Linked DNA regions of Homo sapiens: region 1 is linked to region 2. The links are contacts of gene promoters, found by promoter capture Hi-C in human tissues and cell types (Jung and others, 2019). All regions are on one chromosome and are shown on one strand. The core of a region is centred on a gene start or on the middle of the fragment in contact, and the rest is flanking DNA. Distances in the headings are between cores, read along the strand shown. Region 1 has its middle 22 kb from the start of LINC02181. Region 2 holds the start of FOXF1 (forkhead box F1).

Region 1 (3,984 bases), core at 1,257-3,756, 530 kb after region 2:
GGAGGCAGCTGCCGTCCCACCCAGAAGCCTATTCCCTGCTCCGACCAGGTGGAAAATCTGCTCAACTCAAAAGGTCAAACCTAGTTTAATTTTATACCCTTTTGTTAAGAATATGCCCTTAAAAAAACCCAAAAAAACAAAATAAAAACACTTCACGTTTCTTTCCAACTGTTCAAAAGTTAATTCATGTGGAAGAAAAAAAAAAAGATTAGGATAAAATTTCAAATATTAAATTCAAATGCAGGATTAATGACTTCTATTTCTAAGCCCAAGAGGTTGTCTGGAATTTAGGGCATTTTTGGAGTAGTCAACACCAGACATAACCAGATGCGGTTGTATTTTGGACCAAGTCAGCACAAATTTAGCACCTTGAAAGACTATATCCACATCTGCCTTAATACAAACAGTTCCCCCTTTCTTAAAACTCTCTGTCCAAAATGAATTCAAAGCCATCAGCTTAAAGACAAAGACTGAACACTTTTTAAATATAAGTGACGGTAGCTGACAAATGCGAGGCCTGACTCACACCTCCTTCCCACTTTAACCCTTTCTCTGCTTTCACCCTCCTCAAATATACACACACAGGCCCCAAGGACAGCACGAAAATGACTAATTTGAAAGAAGGAAAAATCAGGCTCTCCATAAAGCATGGTCTCTCCAGAGTCACTAAGTACTGTAACAAAACATGCCTCAAGTTCTGCCGATCCCAAGAAGTACTGAAAAAAAATCACGTATGCGAACCCTATCTGGGCAATTTTTCCAGCCCAGTGTGGTTTGGATCATTTAGGAGAAATTCCGAATAGGAGTCTGGATGATTTATCCAAGTCCTCAGATGAGCATACTCAAAGAGCATCCCCTCATGCTATGGCATCGGCAGGAACAGGACGATGGGCATGGGACAGTGGGACGATGCCCCAGGGCTGTGATTCCAGGCCCTGGCTGAATGAAGTGTCCTGTGGGACATCAGCAACACTTGGCAAAGAACTTCATGGTCCAATACGCTTGGAAAGCACAAGGTACTCTAAGACAGGGCTGGCCAACCATGTCCCGGGGCCATGTTGGACCCTCCACGTGTTTTTATAAATAAAGTTTTATTGGAACACAGCCATGCCCATTTGATTATAGACTGTCCATGGCAGCTGCCTGCCACAACAGCTCAGTGTGTCCTTGCGACAGCCCAGATGACCCACGAAGCCAAAAGCTTTACTAGCTGGCCCTTTAGAGATAGAGCAGAGCAGGGGTCAGCAAACTCTAAGACCTTAGAGATTCACAAATTAGAGAGTCAGCACGTTAAACACTCCGAGAGATCCTGCCACAGGGAACTCTAGTCCACTTGGTCTAGCATAATATTCTCAACTACATTTAATTTTAAAAAAACTTTTCCCTCTCTAAGACATGTATTAATTCCTCTCATAGGATGCCCTTCCTAGGACACATTTTGGGAGATACTGGTGTGTGTGCACATGTGTGCTTGTATGTGCACGGAAGAAATACGTGTGAGAACAGTCACCACGAGGAAAACACCCTGTGTCCATTTTCGGACACCTCCGGCCTGACACAGCAGGCACAAGAACGTCATTCATGTGGTTACTTAACCAGCTCTTGAGACACGTAAGAATACCGCATCCACACAACCAAATTAAAAGGTTCCGTTTGTTCAGGAGAGAAATTGTTTTATTACCAATAATTGATTATTTCTAATATGGAAAACTCCATCTTGCTAAAACAGAGGATAAGAGATAGATCCATAAAATAAGATAGAAGTCGCCAGGCGCAGTGGCTCAGGCCTGCAATCCCAGCACTTTGGGAGGCCAAGGTGGGTGGATCATGAGGTCAGGAGATCAAGACCATCCTGGCTAACACAGTGAAACCCCATCTCTACTAAAAAAAAAATACAAAAAATTAGCCAGGCGTGGTGGCGGGCGCCTGTAGTCCCAGCTACTTGGGAGGCTGAGGCAAGAGAATGGCATGAACCTGGGAGGCAGAGTGAGCCAAGATCGCACCACTGCAGTCCAGCCTGGGCGACAGAACGAGATTCCATCTCAAAAAAAAAAAAAAAAAAAAAAGATAGAAGGGACCACCCTGCAGAAGAAGAAAGAACACAAATAGGGGCTGAACTGGATTCTCTCAAGGATCCCGTGTTGCACCCTAACCCCCAGTCCCTCAGAACACGACTGTCTTTGGAGACACAGCCTTTAAAGAGATGATGAGAGTAAAATAGGTCATCAGGGTGGGCCCCAATTCAATAGAACCGGTGTGTCCTCATAAGAGGAGAAAATTAGGAGGACACAGACACGGAAGGAAGTCCCCGTGAGGACCCAGGGAGAAGACGTACGTCTGCGAGCCAAGGAGGGGGCCTTGGAGGAACCAACCCTGTAGGCATCTTGACCTCAGACTTGCAGCCTCCGGAGCTGGGCATTTCTGCTGTCTGAGCCTCCCAGTCTGTGGGACTTTATGGCAGCCCCACACACAATTATAGCTAATAAGGCTTCTCAACAGAGTACCCATGGAAAATGTCTGATAATGTACAGCTACATTTTATGAAAAAGGCTTCCATTCAGCCTACAGTTAGATCTGAGTTCAAAATCAAAACAGTTACCAGCTGTGTGAGTTTGGAGACGCGACTCACTCTCTCCGATTCTATGCCACAAAATGGAAACACCGGCACCTGCTTCACCTGAGTCTTCCTCACAGGTTGCTGGTGAAGACTGAGTGAGGGAATAGAAGTAAAACCAAGTGGCACAGAGGGGCCATCGATGAGCAGCCTTCCTCATGATTACTGTATTTCTTCTATCCTAAGGCAACATCGATTGTGATTCACCATCAACTGGCTAAGAGATTTTAAGGAGCAAAGAGATGCCAGCCTATATGTGCTCATCAGTGACAAAATGCACTCTGATTAGAGAAACACACAGATGGGAGGGAAATGAAATGTTTTTCCAGGCATTGAGAGAGTGTGATATTCCTCTTGGTTTTATATTTAGAGAGGCACACACCTCATCGCGACGTGGAAATGGTGATACCAGATCCTGGTGCGGGGCTCTGTAGCACGGACTGGGAATGCCAGGGCATTCCTCCAGGGCATGAGTGAAACAAACAAGGCTTGGTGAGAACCTGTACACGGTCATACCCCACCCATGGGTGGAGGAAGGGCTTCAGCCCAGACCTCCCGATAGCCCCTCCTGAGCTACCTCTACACCCACAAAGGACAGGGGACATATGGGGTTGGTTGTTTGTTTTTTGAGACAGAGTTTCACTCTTGTTTCCCATGCTGGAGTGCGATGGCATGATCTCAGCTCACTGCAACCTCTGCCTCCCGGGTTCAAGCCATTTTCCTGCCTCAGCCTCCTTAGTAGCTGGGATTACAGGCACCTGCCACCATGAGCAGCTAACTTTTTGTATTTTAAGTAGAGACAGGGTTTCACCATGTTGGCCAGGCTGGTCTTGAGCTCCTGACCTCAGGTGATGCACCTGCCTCAGCCTCCCAAACTGCTGGGATTACACGTGTGAGCCACCATGCCCGGCTCAGGGTACATATGTTTTAACCCACAGAGTGACCAAATTAGTAGCAGAACAAGGAACTTTATAGATGGATTTTACTATATGAACTCCTCGGTGATTCCAAATTCAAGAATTCTTGTCATTTTTATGACATGTCTTGTTTTTCTCTGAGCCTGCAAGGTCAGTGAGGACAATCAGGTCAAATGAAAGTGGCCCATGGATTTCACCAATCCAGGAGCACTATAAGGGAGTAAATGGAAATCAGACCAGGCCCAGGAGGTTGTGTTACTGGGGAGATACTGAGCGGTGTTACAAAGGGAAGTTCATGTACCACAGGTGGGCCCATTTACAGCTTGAACTTCAAGCAGGAGTAACTTTTTCCACCAAAAGAGTTTAAAACTCTTCTCCAACTCCCAAGGAAAACAAAATAATTTTGATCCTATAGAGACAATGCAGACCCTACTGGGAACCAGCACAGAGACC
Region 2 (4,233 bases), core at 474-2,973:
GGCAGCCAGGTGCGCGAGGGCCGCCCTTGCCGGCGCTCCCAGCCCGCGCTGTCTGCTCTCAGGAACCTGGCCTGGCGCGCAGTGTCAGAGGCCCCGCGGCGGCGGCAGGCCGAGCCCACAGGGGCATTAGGCCAACTCCCCCCTCCCGCCCTGCGCACGCGGAATTCTCTATTATTATTATTAAAGAATCCCCCAGAACTTGTTTACGTTAAACCCTGTAAACTTCCTGCCAGGGCCTTTGCCATCTCTCGGGAAATCGGAACCTGCGCTTTGAAAACGGGGCCGCGGGGCCAAATAGGCGGGTTTTCAGTGTGTGTTGGGGGTGGGGGAGGGCAACTGAACTACGTGTGAGTTCAGATCCGAGCGTGGCGTGTGTACGCGTGAGTGGGAGTGAGTGCGAACTTAAGCTCCTGTGGGCCTTAAGCTTCCGTGTCAACGAGTGCATTAGTGGGTGCGCACATGCCTGAGCGCCCTCTGCATATGAGTGTGCACACACGCATGGGTGTGTTTACACGTCTGTTTGCGTAATTTACCGGGTTTGCATGTGCATCAAGACATGTATGTGTGTGCTAATGTGTGGACAAGAGCGCGAGGGTGTGCGCGCACGGGTGAGTGACTGAGCACGCCGCTTATTCAGGGGCCTGTGCGGTCTGGGTCGCCTCTGGGCCAGCGGGTTCTCACTCGCCCCCGTCAGGCCCGCGGCGCCCGAGACAAAGCGGCCGCGACTCGTGCTGCGCTTTCGTTTTCCGCCTGCGCTCTGCCCCGGCGGCTGCCCGCCCGCTCGCAAGCTGCTGGGCGAGTCCGAAAAATCCCGGGAGCGGCGCAGTTCTTCCCGGGGCGGGGAGAGTGGGTAGGCGGTCCCTCGCGGGAACTTAGCCGGCCGGCCGCGAGGACCGGAGTCGAGCCGGCTGTGCCTGCGATGGTCACGACCGGGAGGCCGCCGCACTTGCGATTTGCTACAGGGCTGTGCGCGTCGGGGAAGGCCCCGGCCCAGGGAGCGTTTCCCGCCGCGCCGCCCGGGCGGGGAAGGCGGGGTCCAGCGCGCACCGGGGCTGAACCGCGGGCGGAGGGCGCATTAACACTTGCTCGCCAGGTTGGTGGAGGCGGGGCGGATTCTGCTGGCGGCCGCGGGGCGGCGAGAGTGGGGGCTCTTTAAGCGCCCACCAACGCGGGGGCCCGAGGGGGGCAGGGACGGAGGGAGGGAACTCCGGGAGGGTCTTAGGCCGACCCGCGAGACGCAGCCGAGCGGAGATGGAGTGAAGGCTGCCTCGCCCGGAATCTCGGAGCCGAGCGCCGCGGGCGGCGGGGACTCAGGGCTGCTCCCGGCTGGGGCGCACGGCCGTAAGACCTGGAGGTGGTGCCTCCCCCCAAAAAATACCGGCGGGGGTAGCTTCCTCACGGCCTTCGCCCGGGCTGCCCTCGGCCTCAGCTCGGCTCCTTTCCTTGTGGGAGGGCGAGAAAGAAAGAGGGAGGAGAGAGGTGGGGGAGGCGGGAGTTGGAGAGAGAGGGGCTCTGAGCCAACCGCCGGCGGATCCAGCAGCTCCTCGGGGAGGGCGGGCGGGAGCGCGGGGGCGGGCGCGCCGCGGCTCGCTCGGGAGAAGTGGCCGCCGATGACGGCAGAGGTGCAGCCAGCCCCGCGCGCGCAGCCCCCTCCCCTTCGCCCTCCTCCCCCCCGTCGTCCTCTTCCTCCTCCTCCTCCTCCTCCTCCCGGCCCGTCCGCGGCGCAGAGCAGCGGCGGCAGCGGCGGCGGCGGCAGCAGCCACCCGATGTCTTCGGCGCCCGAGAAGCAGCAGCCACCGCACGGCGGCGGCGGCGGCGGCGGCGGGGGAGGCGGCGCGGCCATGGACCCCGCGTCGTCCGGCCCGTCCAAGGCCAAGAAGACCAACGCCGGCATCCGGCGCCCGGAGAAGCCGCCCTATTCCTACATCGCGCTCATCGTCATGGCCATCCAGAGTTCACCCACCAAGCGCCTGACGCTGAGCGAGATCTACCAGTTCCTGCAGAGCCGCTTCCCCTTCTTCCGGGGCTCCTACCAGGGCTGGAAGAACTCCGTGCGCCACAACCTCTCGCTCAACGAGTGCTTCATCAAGCTACCCAAGGGCCTTGGGCGGCCCGGCAAGGGCCACTACTGGACCATCGACCCGGCCAGCGAGTTCATGTTCGAGGAGGGCTCCTTTCGGCGGCGGCCGCGCGGCTTCCGAAGGAAATGCCAGGCGCTCAAGCCCATGTACAGCATGATGAACGGGCTCGGCTTCAACCACCTCCCGGACACCTACGGCTTCCAGGGCTCGGCCGGCGGCCTCTCGTGCCCGCCCAACAGCCTGGCGCTGGAGGGCGGCCTGGGCATGATGAACGGCCACTTGCCGGGCAACGTGGACGGCATGGCCCTGCCCAGCCACTCGGTGCCCCACCTGCCTTCCAACGGCGGCCACTCGTACATGGGCGGCTGCGGCGGCGCGGCGGCCGGCGAGTACCCGCACCACGACAGCTCGGTGCCCGCCTCCCCGCTGCTGCCCACCGGCGCCGGTGGGGTCATGGAGCCGCACGCCGTCTACTCGGGCTCGGCGGCGGCCTGGCCGCCCTCGGCGTCCGCGGCGCTCAACAGCGGCGCCTCTTATATCAAGCAGCAGCCCCTGTCCCCCTGTAACCCCGCGGCCAACCCCCTGTCCGGCAGCCTCTCCACGCACTCCCTGGAGCAGCCGTATCTGCACCAGAACAGCCACAACGCCCCAGCCGAGCTGCAAGGTGAGTGGGGAGGCCGAGGGCGCCCTGGTCCCCGGGAAGTCGAGTCTGAGTGGCAGCGGGACCCAGCTGGGGCGAGCCCCTCCACTTCTGTGGTCGGAACCCCAAGGCTGAGGGGAGGCACCAGCTCCCCAAGGTGTCTCTTGGCCCCACCTCTCCCCCTTCGAAGAGTGACTACCGCTCTTGACCCTAGTTTGGGCCAATCTGTTTCTCTTTCTGTTCGAACTCCAGCTGCCAGCTGCTCCAGGCCTGACCAGGTAGGCTGGTCCTGAGCCAGATGTCCCAGACCCCAGTGCCCTAAGTCCTTTTGTGTCCCTTAAGTCCCCTCACAGCTTGGAAAGATCCTGGGATGGACCCAAGGCTCCCAGCGCTGGCCAGATGGCTGTCCCTCCCTGGTGGTGGCCCTCAGGCTGCCTGGAGGGCTGCCTCTGCCTGGGGCTGGGCGGAACGGAAGGTGTTAGGCCCAAAGCCGCTGGGCCAGCGCTCAGAGGCTCAGCCCCGGCCTTTCAGGGGACCAGACCTGGCAGACCCACAGCTGAGTCCAGGGGCATTTTGTGGTGACTGAGGCAGGAGGGTGCCGTGGCCAGGCCCCGGAGGGTCAGAGCTGCAGACCGGGCCATGGGGGCTCCTTGTTTTTTAGGATCCAAGTTTTCAGGTCCCCACACCCCCAACACCCCTGATACCCCAATACCCCGAACATGCAGAAGCATCTGCCAAGGGAGATGCAGCAGCCTCGCCTCCTGATTCTGCCCCAGGCCCCCCGCAGCCTGCAGGCCCAGCTCTGGAAAAAGCTGGAGTGAGCTTGCCAGGGCCAGTCCAGGGTCAGCTGTCAGCAGCCCCAGGAGGCAGGAGCCAGGCCTGGAGGCCTTAGGCAGCCTCTCTGCGGGGGACTCCCCGGCTCCGGGGCCTGTTCTCTGGAGAAGCTTCTTCTCACCCCTGCTGCTGGCCCGGCGCTGGCCCTGCACTGGCCTCTCCTTCAACCCCGCCGGCAGTCGTAGCCTCTGAGGTTGGGGGTGGTGGTGGCTGCCCTGGCGGTGACGGCCATGGGCGTTAGGGGCCCTCCACTTGGTCTCCCTCACCACTTCCCCTATGGCTCTGGAAGCCCTGGGCCCCTGCACGGTGTCCGAGGCTGGACAGGCACGCAGCAGGCAGGCAGGCAGGCAGGCAGGCAGGCCGTGGCAAGTGTTCTGGAGTCTTTTCCTTGGGTGCGCAGCTGGAAGGCCGGGACTCGGGGAGGAGAGCGGGGAGGCGGCCGTGCTCTGGAGCCAGGCTGACAGGCCCTGTGCGCCCCACGGGAGCACTGCTCCTCTGCCTGAACTCTGAGCCACCGTGGCTAACTCTTCTGCTCCCCCAACCCCTCCTGTCGCCTCGCCTTGCAGGCATCCCGCGGTATCACTCGCAGTCGCCCAGCATGTGTGACCGAAAGGAGTTTGTCTTCTCTTTCAACGCCATGGCGTCCTCTTCCATGCACTCGGCCGGCGGGGGCTCCTA

Evidence for each region. The method cuts DNA at HindIII sites, captures the fragments that hold promoters and counts their contacts. A contact is called where the count stands out against the background at its distance.
Region 1: a contact is called between a fragment that was not itself captured here and the fragment with the promoter of FOXF1 in region 2, in 1 of the 25 tissues and cell types used here (dorsolateral prefrontal cortex).

What each region holds. Positions count from the first base shown.
Region 1 is chr16:87,034,169-87,038,152 of GRCh38, forward strand. No RefSeq gene overlaps it. Among named protein-coding and RNA genes, the nearest start is that of LINC02181, 22 kb to the right of the region's middle. The HindIII fragment of the contact is 9,812 bases long and covers 1-3,984 here.
Region 2 is chr16:86,508,804-86,513,036 of GRCh38, forward strand. FOXF1 (forkhead box F1) reads left to right here and starts at 1,724. Exons shown (of 2, transcript NM_001451.3): 1 at 1,724-2,745; 2 at 4,122-4,233. The coding sequence starts at 1,767. It overlaps FENDRR (FOXF1 adjacent non-coding developmental regulatory RNA), which reads right to left and starts at 57. Exons shown (of 4, transcript NR_033925.1): 1 at 1-57. RefSeq lists an enhancer at 3,217-3,983. The HindIII fragment of the contact is 9,827 bases long and covers 1-4,233 here.